2 separate regions of the Homo sapiens genome follow, and region 2 is linked to region 1. Evidence: promoter capture Hi-C in human tissues and cell types (Jung and others, 2019). All regions are on one chromosome and are shown on one strand. The core of a region is centred on a gene start or on the middle of the fragment in contact, and the rest is flanking DNA. Distances in the headings are between cores, read along the strand shown.

Region 1 (5,379 bases), core at 2,092-4,591:
GAAACAGAAAGTCAAAGATAAAGAGCTGTGCGTGTTGGTGAGAACCTATACTCCAGCTACTCGGGTGGGAGAATTGCTTGAGCCCAGGAGTTCAAGGCTGCAGTGAGCCATGATGGCGCCACTGCACTCCAGCCTGAACAACAGAGCGAGACTCTGTCTCTAACTCTTGTTGGGGACCTGTGAGAAGGAGTATTGACTAGAACATGCCTTCAGGTTGTCCCATCGAGAGTGAAGAAATGATGTTTTCCACCAACTCTGGTTTCTTGCTGGTTGGGGGTGTCCTTTCTGAGGGCATCAATTTCCTACCACCCCAAAGCTCCAAATAGAGAAATGTGGGGAGCTGTCCAAGGTGTGTCCAGGAATTATCTTCCAGTGACCTGTAGGGTGGACAGGTAGGCAGAGGGGATATGATGGTATCAACAGGGTCCAACCCTGAGAGAATCATCACCCTCTTTAGGCCTCGGTCTTCCCATCTATACAATAAAGAGGTTGGACTCCATGTTTTCTTAGGGGCCTTCATACCCTGACATTCTAGGAGTCTTAACTTTTTTTTGATGTCGCGCATCTCAGGGTGGTGACTGGGTGGAAGTTTGAGAAAAATCTCTCTCTCTCTCTTTTTTTTTTTTTTTTGATGGCTCTGTCTCCCATACTGGAGTACAGTGGCACAATCAGAGCTCACTGTAACCTTGAACTCCTGGGCTCAGGCAAGCCTCCTGCCTCAGCCTTCCGAGTAGCTGGGACTATAGGCCCACGCCACCATGCCCAGCTTTTTAAAATATTTTGTAGAGACGAGGTCTCTCTCTGTTGCCCAGGCTAGTCTTGAACTCCTGGCTTCAAGCAATCCTCCTGCTTTGGCCTCCCAAAGTGCTAGGATTACAGGCATGAGCCACTGCTCCTGGCCTTTTTTTTAATAAGGCAATCCTAAGTAGCCTCAGGCTGCTGAGGTTGAGTCTCTTCAACCCAGAAGGGCTTGGCTGGGATTGGCCAAAAGGCCTCCCAGAGAATCCCAAACCATTAGAGTCTAACTTCCCAAATGTGACCGGCAGGCACTGCATGCTCAGGTCCCACCCACTGCCTCTCCCCACACTCCTCACCTCTGTGCTGCAGCCACGCCAATTTTTCAGTTCCTCCAACACTGTCAGGCAGGCCAGGCACCCTCCCATCCCTAAGCTTTGCACATTTGGAACTCCAAGAGGGGAGGACTGTTTTGTTCCTCTCTGGATGTCCAGAACAAGAACTACCTGGCACATATTAGGTGCTCCATAAATATATGTTGAATGCCTCTTCCTTTCTTCCGTGAACACTCTTCCTCCTCCCCTCAACGGCCACTGTGTACTTCAGCCCAAAGTTTAAACTTCGTTTCTTCAGAGAAGTTGACACCCTAAATAGTGCAGGTCCCCTCAAATGTGTCCTTAAGCTATCCTCCACTGCTTCCTGCCCTTCACCCCAGCTATGATAAATGCATTAATTGACTATGTCTGTTTTTGTTTAAGGTTTCTCTTGCCCATAGACTGAGTCTCAAGCTTTCTGGGACTGGGTCTGTCTTGTTCATTGCTTGGACACTCAATACGTATTTGTTGAATGGATGAAAAAAACCCACTCTGTCCTACCTTGATCCCCGTCACATAGCAATTAGAAGATAGGTGTCCACACCAAGCTGCCTCTGCGACCCAAGCTGAAATGCGGTTCTCTCAGGAAAATCAGGAGATTTCACTCGACACCCCAACCCCAGCTCCCACACACTGTGGACCACTTTTCATGCCTTCCCTCCAGGTTCCTGAGCCCCACCCCCATCACAGGAAGATCATTTTCTGTCCATTAAACTCACTTATTTAGCAAGAGAACTGGGTCTGCAGGAGATACTTGAAGATCATTGGAGATCATTCCACAGGAAGGCAGATCCCTGCATGGCTGGGGAAGATAGGCACAATTGTGTTTCCACCCCTCCACTAAGATGACTTCCAAACCCAACCCCACTGAGGGGATACTGGCCTGACCTGGCAGCCTTGCACCTGGATCAATATTTCTCAAAATTTGGTGCACTTAAGAATGAATCTCGGCGGGGTGCGGTGGCTCACGCCTGTAATCCCAGCACTTTGGGAGGCCGAGGCAGGCAGATCACGGGGTCAGGAGATCGAGACTATTCCGGATAACATGGTGAAACCCCATCTCTACTAAAAATACAAAAAAATTGGCCGGGCGTGGTGGCGGGCGCCTGTAGTCCCAGCTACTCAGGAGGCTGAGGCAGGAGAATGGTGTGAACCCGGGAGGCAGAGCTTGCAGTGAGCCGAGATCGTGGCACTGCACTCCAGCCTGGGCGACAGTGCGAGACTGCGTCTCAAAAAAAAAAAAAAAGAATCTCATCTGTAATTACAGCACTTTGGGAGGCCAAGGCAGGCGGATCGCTTGAGACCAGGAGTTCCAGACCAGCCTGGGCAACGTAGTAAGACCTAGTCTTTACAAAAAATTAAAAAATTAGCTGGGCATGATGGATGGCTCACGCCTGTAGTCCTAGCTACTCAGGAGGCTGAGGCAGAAAGGATCACTTGAGCTGGGGAAGTCGAGGCAGTGAGCCTGATTGCTCCACTCCACTCTGGCCTCAGCCACAGAGGGAGACCCTGTCTCAAAAAAATAAAAAGAATCTCCCCGATAAGCTCTCACTACTCGAGAGTGTAGTTCTGGGACCAGCAGCACCCCCAGCACATAGGAGCTTGTTAAAAATGCAAAGCCTTACTAACAAAACAGCCAGCAAAGGAAGTTTTAGGTAGACAGAGGCAAACAGGAGCCTGGATACACGTGGCATGCACAGGCCGTGTGCACGATGGAGTGAGTGCAGGTTAAAGCAGAGCTGGATTTAGTGATCTACACACACACACACACACACACACACACACACACACACACACACACACGGGATTCGAGCGCACCGAGTTGCCTCCACTTGGGCATAGGCGCGGAACTGTGTCCTCCCGCTTTGAGATGCAACGGTGCAGAGACGCGGGAGCCCAGAACGCTTCCCAGGGCCCCTGGGACACCCTCGGGCGCCCTCCGCGCCGCGACCGCCGCCTGTGGCCAGGTCACAGCCTCCCAGCTCGCCAGAGAGCCCTCCTTCCCAAATCTCTCTTCGGTCCCCCGGCGCCCCTGGAAGGGCCGGAGTTGGAGGGTCCCCTCTCTCAGCCTCGTCCCTCCCCTGAGGCCCGATCGGCCGGCGCGGGCAATCAGTGCCCGGGCAAGTCCTTGAAGTCTATATTTAGTGCCCGCCACCCCTCCCCCGCACAGTTGGGAGGCGGGCGGTGGGGGGGTGGGGGTGGGGAGAGCCCCGCCCCCGCCGGGCGTGTGTGTCGTGTGTGTTTGGGGCCCGCGCGGGTTGCGCGCCCTCCGCCTTCGCGCCTCCTGCCCCCGAGGCCCTACTGCTGCCCCTGTGCCCCTCGCCCCGCCGGGCGTCGCGGGCCAACATGGGCCAGGAAGAGGAGCTGCTGAGGATCGCCAAAAAGCTGGAGAAGATGGTGGCCAGGAAGAACACGGTGAGGCTGCAGAGTTTGGGCCACGGCCCCCGCCCCCGGGAGGCGCGGGCAAGCCCCGGATTCCGGGGTGGGGACGTACTGGCGGGGCGCCATGGGGGCGCGTACGGGACTCGGGGACCCGAGGGAGGAGCGGCTGGTGCAGGGCCCAAGGCCCCTTGGGGACCCTTGCTGAGCACCTCGAGGTGGGCGTGTGCGTGGCCCAGGACGCCAGGGGGATCGTGCGGGTCCCGGAGGCGCGACTTGTGCACGTCCCTTTGGACGTGTAGGGTTCACCCTGGGCAGCTAGTGCAGGGCCCAGGAAAGCGGGCGAAGAGAGCTGGACGTGGGAAAGGACTTTGGGAGTCCCAGGGCTTGGCGTGTGCAAAGCCCGGGGAGCGGCGGCGATGGCGGGGGCGGGGCGGGGGGCAAATCCGGGTGGCCCGAGAAGTGGCAGAGAAACTTGGGCTGACGGGGGTACTGAGCTGCATCCCTGCACCCCGGAGTGGGTCTGCGGGAGAGAAGTAAAAGGCCGTGGATCCTGCGACCCCACCGCTTGGTGCGTCAGGAGCGGTTCTTTTGGCAATTTTCCCTTTCCTTGGCCTTGGGGTGCGGCCCGGACGGGCGGGGGCCGAACAGGTGCGGGGGCCCGCGGGGCGGGGGAAGGGGGCCGGGCTGGAGGCCTGTGCAGCGAGGGCGAGGGCGGAGGGAGGAGCGGGCTCGGCGGGAGGTTGGGAGCAGGGCTGACAGCCCTACCGGAGGGTCCTGGCCAGAGCGCAGACCCAGCTGGAAGTTAATGTTTGATCTTCCCCGTGATCTTTGCCTGGGGCTGGCGGCCGACTGGTCGCCTGGCCAGAGCAAATTTGGCCTTGGGTCCTGGAGGGCCTGCGCTCACCCTGGGAGGGAAAAAAAGGGAGCCTGGTGAGCATGCCCTTCCCACCTCCCGTTCCTGTTCCAGGGTCCTCTTCCTCCCACCATCCGTAGCCATGTGCTGCAGCCACCTGCATTTCCAGGACACTTAGGAGCCTGGGAAAGGAAGAGACACTAAGGGAAGTTTTAGAGCCAGGAAGAGTAGCCAAGGCCCAGGGAAGGGTCACTGGAACCATGAAGTGGCAGGGAGCCCTAGAGTGGACACTGGGCAGTCATGAGTTGGTGTCCATATAAAGGCCAGAGCCTCAGTTTCTTCATCTGTAAGAAAGAGATGAGATTATCTGCCTCTGGAGAAGGGATGTCACTGGATTCTTGTCTCTGCTGGCAGCGGTGAGGATTGGAGAGATGAGACAGAGATGTAAAGCCCTTAGTAGGACTCAGACCTGTGCTTGCTAAGAACTGGCGAACAAGACCTGCTTCTACGCAGCCAGGTCCAACACAGAAAGATACAGCACAAACCTGCAGAGTGCTGGGAGCTTCTCACCTGACACTCCCAACCTCCATGCACTCCCCGTTCCAGACTCCTCCACAATCCTCAGTACAACTGAGCCACAAGTCTTGGGGGAGCATTTTCTCAGCTGGGGTTGGCAGAGCGCAGCCAGGGATTCTGAGCCAAATTCCAGTTCAAATAGACGGGTTATCCCAGCCCAGCTCCTTACTGACCCCCAAGCTTGGGCCAGGAAAGAAATTCTGGGCCCCTGGGTAAGAGGGGTAGGGTGGGGACGCCTAGAGACCGGAGGAGAGGCAGGCTGCTTGGGATAGAGCTCTGGCTGAAGAGGACGGGACCTGCCCTGGCCTCCCCCTCACTCCTTTTATGGCCCTAGGCAAAAGCCACTCAACCTTCCCTTTCTGGACCTCGAGTTTCCTCTTCTGTGAAATGGGAAGAGGAAATGGTGTCTTTTGGAGATGGATTCCTGTGGAAGTGCCCAGAGCTGTCCCCTGAAAAGAT
Region 2 (5,379 bases), core at 1,170-3,669, 89 kb after region 1:
GAATGAATCAGTAAATCTTTTGTTAAAATCCTGGTTTTCTGAAATTTAAATTTAATTATGTATCTGACCCTTCAGATATTTTTGGTGATTCTTTTTATTGAATTACTTGTCTGTTCTAGAACAAAAGTGCATTTTTATGTGGAGTTATGAAGACCTACAGGCAGAGAGAGAAACAGGGGAGCAAGGTGCAAGAGTCCACAAAGGGACCTGATGAAGCGAAGATCAAGGTAAAACTTGACTTGGGTAGTTGTAATGAAATTGCATTTAATGATGAGGTCAAATGCCTCTTTCCATGTTTCCTAGAAAGTTTCACTTTTTTTTTTTTTGAGACGGAGTCTTGCTCTGTCGCCCAGGCTGGAGTAGCGGCGCAGTCTTGGATCACTGCAAGCTCCACCTCCCAAGTTCATGCCATTCTCCTGCCTCAGCCTCCCAAGTAGCTGGGATTACAGCCATGCACCACCACACCCAGCTAATTATTTGTATTTTTAGGAAAGATAGGGTTTCACTGTGTTGGCCAGATTGGTCTCGATCTCCTGACCTTGTGATCCGCCCACCTCGGCCTTCAAAGTGCTGGGATTACAGACGTGAGCCACCACGCCCAGCTGAAAGTTTCACTTTTCAAAACTAGTGTTTAGAAATGAAATAATTTAGAGGAATTACATAAGAAGGATAATTTTGGGGATCGACACTCAATTGCATGTTTAATGAAAAGCCCTAATTCATACTCTTCCTCATTCCCTCTTTTGTGGCCATGAATGACGTATATTTATTGATGCTTCGCTGGTAGTTTCTTGGATTGATCCAGTAATGTCTCTTGGTTCAGTTATTTTCCAGCCACTTTGTTTCTTTTCTCTTGATAAAAAGGTTATAACTTGATAAAAAGTTGTTATAACTGCTTTCCTCCTTTTGAATATTCAGTTACCTCAGTTTCTTTATTTATAAAATGGGGATAGTAATAGTGACTACCTTACAGAGTTATTGTAAGGAGTAAATGAATTAACATATATAAAGCACTTAGAATAATGCCTGGAATGTAGCAAGAACTATATAACCATGAACCATTATTATTATTACCATTTTATTACTTAGATAAACAGCTTTGAAAAGGTAAATATACAGCTTTTAATGAAAGACCAGTGAACCTAATTCCTTAGTTAAATGGATACTCGTGTCTTGCTGTAGTGACATACTTTTCTTTTTTTTTTTTTTTTTTGAGACAGAGTCTCACTCTGTGGCCCAGGCTGGAGTGCTGGAGTGCAGTAGCGCCATCTCAGCTCATCTCAGCTCACTTCAACCTCTGTCTCCTGGGTTCAAGCGATTCTCCTGCCTCAGCCTCCTGAGTAGCTGGGACTACAGGCGTGCGCCACCACATCCAGCTAATTTTTTTTTTTTTTTTTTTTTTTTTTTTTGAGACGGAGTCTCCCTCTGTCGCCCAGGCTGGAGTGCAGTGGCGCGATCTCAGCTCATTGCAAGGTCTGCCTCCTGGGTTCACGCCATTCTCCTGCCTCAGCCTCCTGAGCAGCTGGGACCACAGGTGCCTGCTACCATGCCCGGCTAATTTTTTTTTTCTTGTATTTTTAGTAGAGACAGGGTTTCACTATGTTAGCCAGGATGGTCTCAATCTCCTGACCTCATGATCCGCCCGCCTCGGCCTCCCAAAGTGCTGGGATTACAGGCGTGAGCCACCGTGCCTGGCTGCTAATTTTTTTTGTTTTTTGGTAGAGTCGGGGTTTCACTGTGTTAGCCAGGCTGGTCTCAAACTCCTGACCTTGGGGGATCTGCCTACCTCACCCTCCCCAAAGTGCTGGGATTACAGGTGTGAGCCACCATATCCGGCCTGTGATAGACTTTTTTTTTTTTTTTTGAGACGGAGTCTCGCTCTGTCGCCCAGGCTGGAGTGCAGTGGCGGGATCTCGGCTCACTGCAAGCTCCGCCTCCCGGGTTCACGCCATTCTCCTCCCTCAGCCTCCCGAGTAGCTGGGACTACAGGCGCCCGCCACTACGCCCGGCTAATTTTTTGTATTTTTAGTAGAGACGGGGTTTCACCATTTTAGCCGGGATGGTCTCGATCTCCTGACCTCGTGATCCGCCCGCCTCAGCCTCCCAAAGTGCTGGGATTACAGGCGTGAGCCACCGCGCCCGGCTGTGATAGACTTTTTAATTAGAAATAGTTATTGTATGTTGAAGTTATTTCTATTATTATTACATTGTAATATGTAATGAAATAATTATACAACTCACCATAATGTAGAATCAGTGGGATCCCTGAGCTTGTTTTCCTGCAACTAGATGGTGCCATCTGGGCATACTGGTAGATGGTGACAGATCTTCAAGCATTAGATTCTCATAAGGAGCATGCAACCTAGATCCCTTGTATGCACACTTCACAATAGGATTCACCCTCCTGTGAGAACCTAATGCGGCTGCTGATCTGACAGGAGGTGGAGCTCACAGCTCAGGCAGTAATGCCAATGATAGGGAGGATGAGGAGCGGCTGTAAATACAGATGAAGCTTTGTTCTCACTTGCCCGCTATTTACCTCCTGCTATGCAGCCCGGTTCCTAACAGGCCATGGACCAGTACGGGTCTGTGGCCCAGGGGTGTGGGGACCCCTGTTTTATATTACATTTATGGCTCTGTTTCAGTCAAAGGTAGAAGAATGGAAGGCCGAAGGCATGCATCCCTGTGAAATCCTAGTGTTCACTGAACTTGATGATATCTAAAGTCTCTTATTGTTCTGACATTGTGTAATTTTAAAAACCTGGCTGGGCTCTGTGGCTCACGCCTGTAATCCCAGCACTTTGGGAGGCTGAGGCGGGTGGATCACGAGGTCAGGAGATCGAGACCATCCTGGCTAACAACGGTGAGGCCACCTGTCTACTAAAAATACAAAAAATTAGCCGGGTGTGGTGGCAGGCGCCTGTAGTCCCAGCTACTTGGGAGGCTGAGGCAGGAGAATGGCGTGAACCCGGGAGGCGGAGCTTGCAGTGAGCCAAGATCGCGCCACTGCACTCCAGCCTGAGCGACAGAGCGAGACTCCGTCTCAAAAAAAAAAAACCAAAAAAACTGAAGTGTAAATTTCTCTTTTCTAGGTAGATTGTGTTTCTTTGTTTACCATTGTATCTTTTCTTCTCTAAGCTCTTTATATAGATGTTGCCTCAATTATAACATAAATTCCTGAGAGCAAGGAGATTATCTTCTTTTCTATGATTGCTCTTAATACCTAATAGAATGTAAGGAAGGTTGGTAATCAGGAAACACAAGATTTTACTTATTTTTCGGAACCTGACTATACTTATTTGGTAATTGCCAAATATTTTTAGTCTGTACTGTATGATTCTTGTCTGATTACCTGATTCTTGTGGAGCTTATGATATGGCAGGAGTACAAACCAGAAGGATCAAACAAAATCAAGCTTAAATGATGGAACTTTAAGTACACTAGAGGCTGGGTATGGTGGCTCATTCCTGTAATCCCAGCACTTTGGGAGGCCAAGTCGGGTGGATCACGAGATCAGGAGATTGAGACCATCCTGGCTAACACGGTGAAACCCTGTCTTTACTAAAAATACAAAAAATTAGCCGGGCGTTGTGGCGGGTGCCTGTAGTCCCAGCTGCTCGGGAGGCTGAGGCAGGAAAAGGGCGTGAACCTGGGAGGCGGAGCTTGCAGTGAGCCGAGATCGCGCTACTGCACTCCAGCCTGGGTGACACAGCGAGACTCCGTCTCAAAAAAAAAAAAAAAAAAAAGTACACTAGAAAGACAGTGGGGGCTGGGCACAGTGGCTCACACCTGTACTCCTAGCACTTTGGGAGGCCAAGACAGGCGGATCTCATGAGGCCAGGAGTTCCTGACCAGCCTGGCCAACATGGTGAAACCCCATCTCTACTAAAAATACAAAAATTAGCTGGGCGTGGTGGCACATGCCTGTAATCCCAGCTACTTGGGAGGCTGAGACAAGAGAATCTCTTAGACCCGGGAGGCAGAGGTTGCAGTGAGCCGAGACGATGCCACTGCACTCCAGCCTGGGCAACAGAGCAAGACTCCATCTCAAAAAAAAAGAAGAAAAGACAGTAGGGAGAAATGGATGTGAGTAATAGTAAATGAGAGAAGCTGCATGAAGGAGGTAAGACTTGTGCTAATTTTTTTAAGGATAGAGAACATTTTATTTGAAAAGACTCACCAGTAGAAACATGTATGGGGAACCAGTGCGAATTTTGACTTTTTTTTTTACCTAACCATAAAAATATATCTCCTAGGAAGTTGGAGTCCTTTTTGGAAAAGATTAATACACTGATGCTTGTGTGTGAGATTTAGTACTCAAGTATAAAGAGATGTATAATTATCTCTAGGCCTTGCTTGAGAGAACTGGTTATACTCTGGATGTAACCACAGGACAGAGGAAGTATGGTGGTCCTCCACCAGACAGTGTGTACTCTGGCGTGCAACCTGGAATTGGAACGGAGGTAAGTGTTCTTTAGCAGTTTACCAAGATCTTTCCAGTTTGGAAAGTGTTTTATCTACTATGCAGATACTGTACAGACGGGGGAAAATTCTTGATCCCTTTCAAAGTGTAGCTGTTGTTAGTTTTTAGATATCCATTTGTATTTTGCTGCCATCATGAGGATGGATAATCTTGTGACTGGTAGATACCCGAACACTTTATATAGGAATATAATATAGAGTTTTTGGAACAGGTTGCTAAAACCATGCTACTAGCAGCACACCATTTTAGATACTTGGAGTAAAGTTATTTGGAAGACGCAATTGCTTTATTCTGTCTTTTTTTTTCCCCTCCCCTGAGATGGAGTTTCGCTCTTGTTGTCCAGGCTGGAGTGCAGTGACACGGTCTCAGCAAACTGCAACCTCGGCCTCCTGGGTTCAAGTGATTCTCCTGCCTCAGCCTCCTGAGTAGCTGGGATTACAGGTGCGTGCCACCACACCTGGCTAATTTTGTATTTTAGTGGAGACGGGGTTTCACCATGTTGGTCAGGCTGGTCTCGAACTCCTGACCTCAAGTTATCCACCCACCTTGGTCTCCCAAAGTGCTGGGATTACAGGCGTTAGCCTCCACACCCGGCTGCTTTTTTTGGTTTTTGCTTTTTGGGGATTGTTTTTGTTTCTGTAGAGACCAGGTCTCACTGTGTTGCCCAGGCTGGTCTTGAACTGCTGGCCTTGGCTTCCCAAAGTGCTGGGATTACAGGCATGAGCCACAGTGCCCAACCAAGTTTTTTTGTTTTTGTTTTGTTTTTTTTTTGGTTTGGTTTTGTTTTTTTTTTTTTGAGATGGAATTTTTGCTCTTGTTGCCTAGGCTGGAGTGCAATGGTGCAATCTCGGCTCACTGCAACCTCCACCTCCTAAGTTCAAGCGATTCTCCTGCCT

What was found. The method cuts DNA at HindIII sites, captures the fragments that hold promoters and counts their contacts. A contact is called where the count stands out against the background at its distance.
Region 2: a fragment that was not itself captured here is called in contact with the fragment with the promoter of TCEA3 in region 1 in 3 of the 25 tissues and cell types used here (H1 embryonic stem cells, IMR-90 fibroblasts and heart left ventricle).

What each region holds. Positions count from the first base shown.
Region 1 is chr1:23,422,710-23,428,088 of GRCh38, reverse strand. It overlaps TCEA3 (transcription elongation factor A3), which reads left to right and starts at 3,341. Exons shown (of 11, transcript NM_003196.3): 1 at 3,341-3,524. The coding sequence starts at 3,456. It overlaps LOC124903875 (a long non-coding RNA gene), which reads right to left and starts at 3,223. Exons shown (of 3, transcript XR_007065535.1): 1 at 2,928-3,223; 2 at 1,829-1,911; 3 at 1-377. The HindIII fragment of the contact is 4,937 bases long and covers 1,348-5,379 here.
Region 2 is chr1:23,332,602-23,337,980 of GRCh38, reverse strand. HNRNPR (heterogeneous nuclear ribonucleoprotein R) reads left to right here. Exons shown (of 11, transcript NM_005826.5): 4 at 120-227; 5 at 4,350-4,463. Among named protein-coding and RNA genes, the nearest start is that of HNRNPR, 9.0 kb to the left of the region's middle. The HindIII fragment of the contact is 4,351 bases long and covers 244-4,594 here.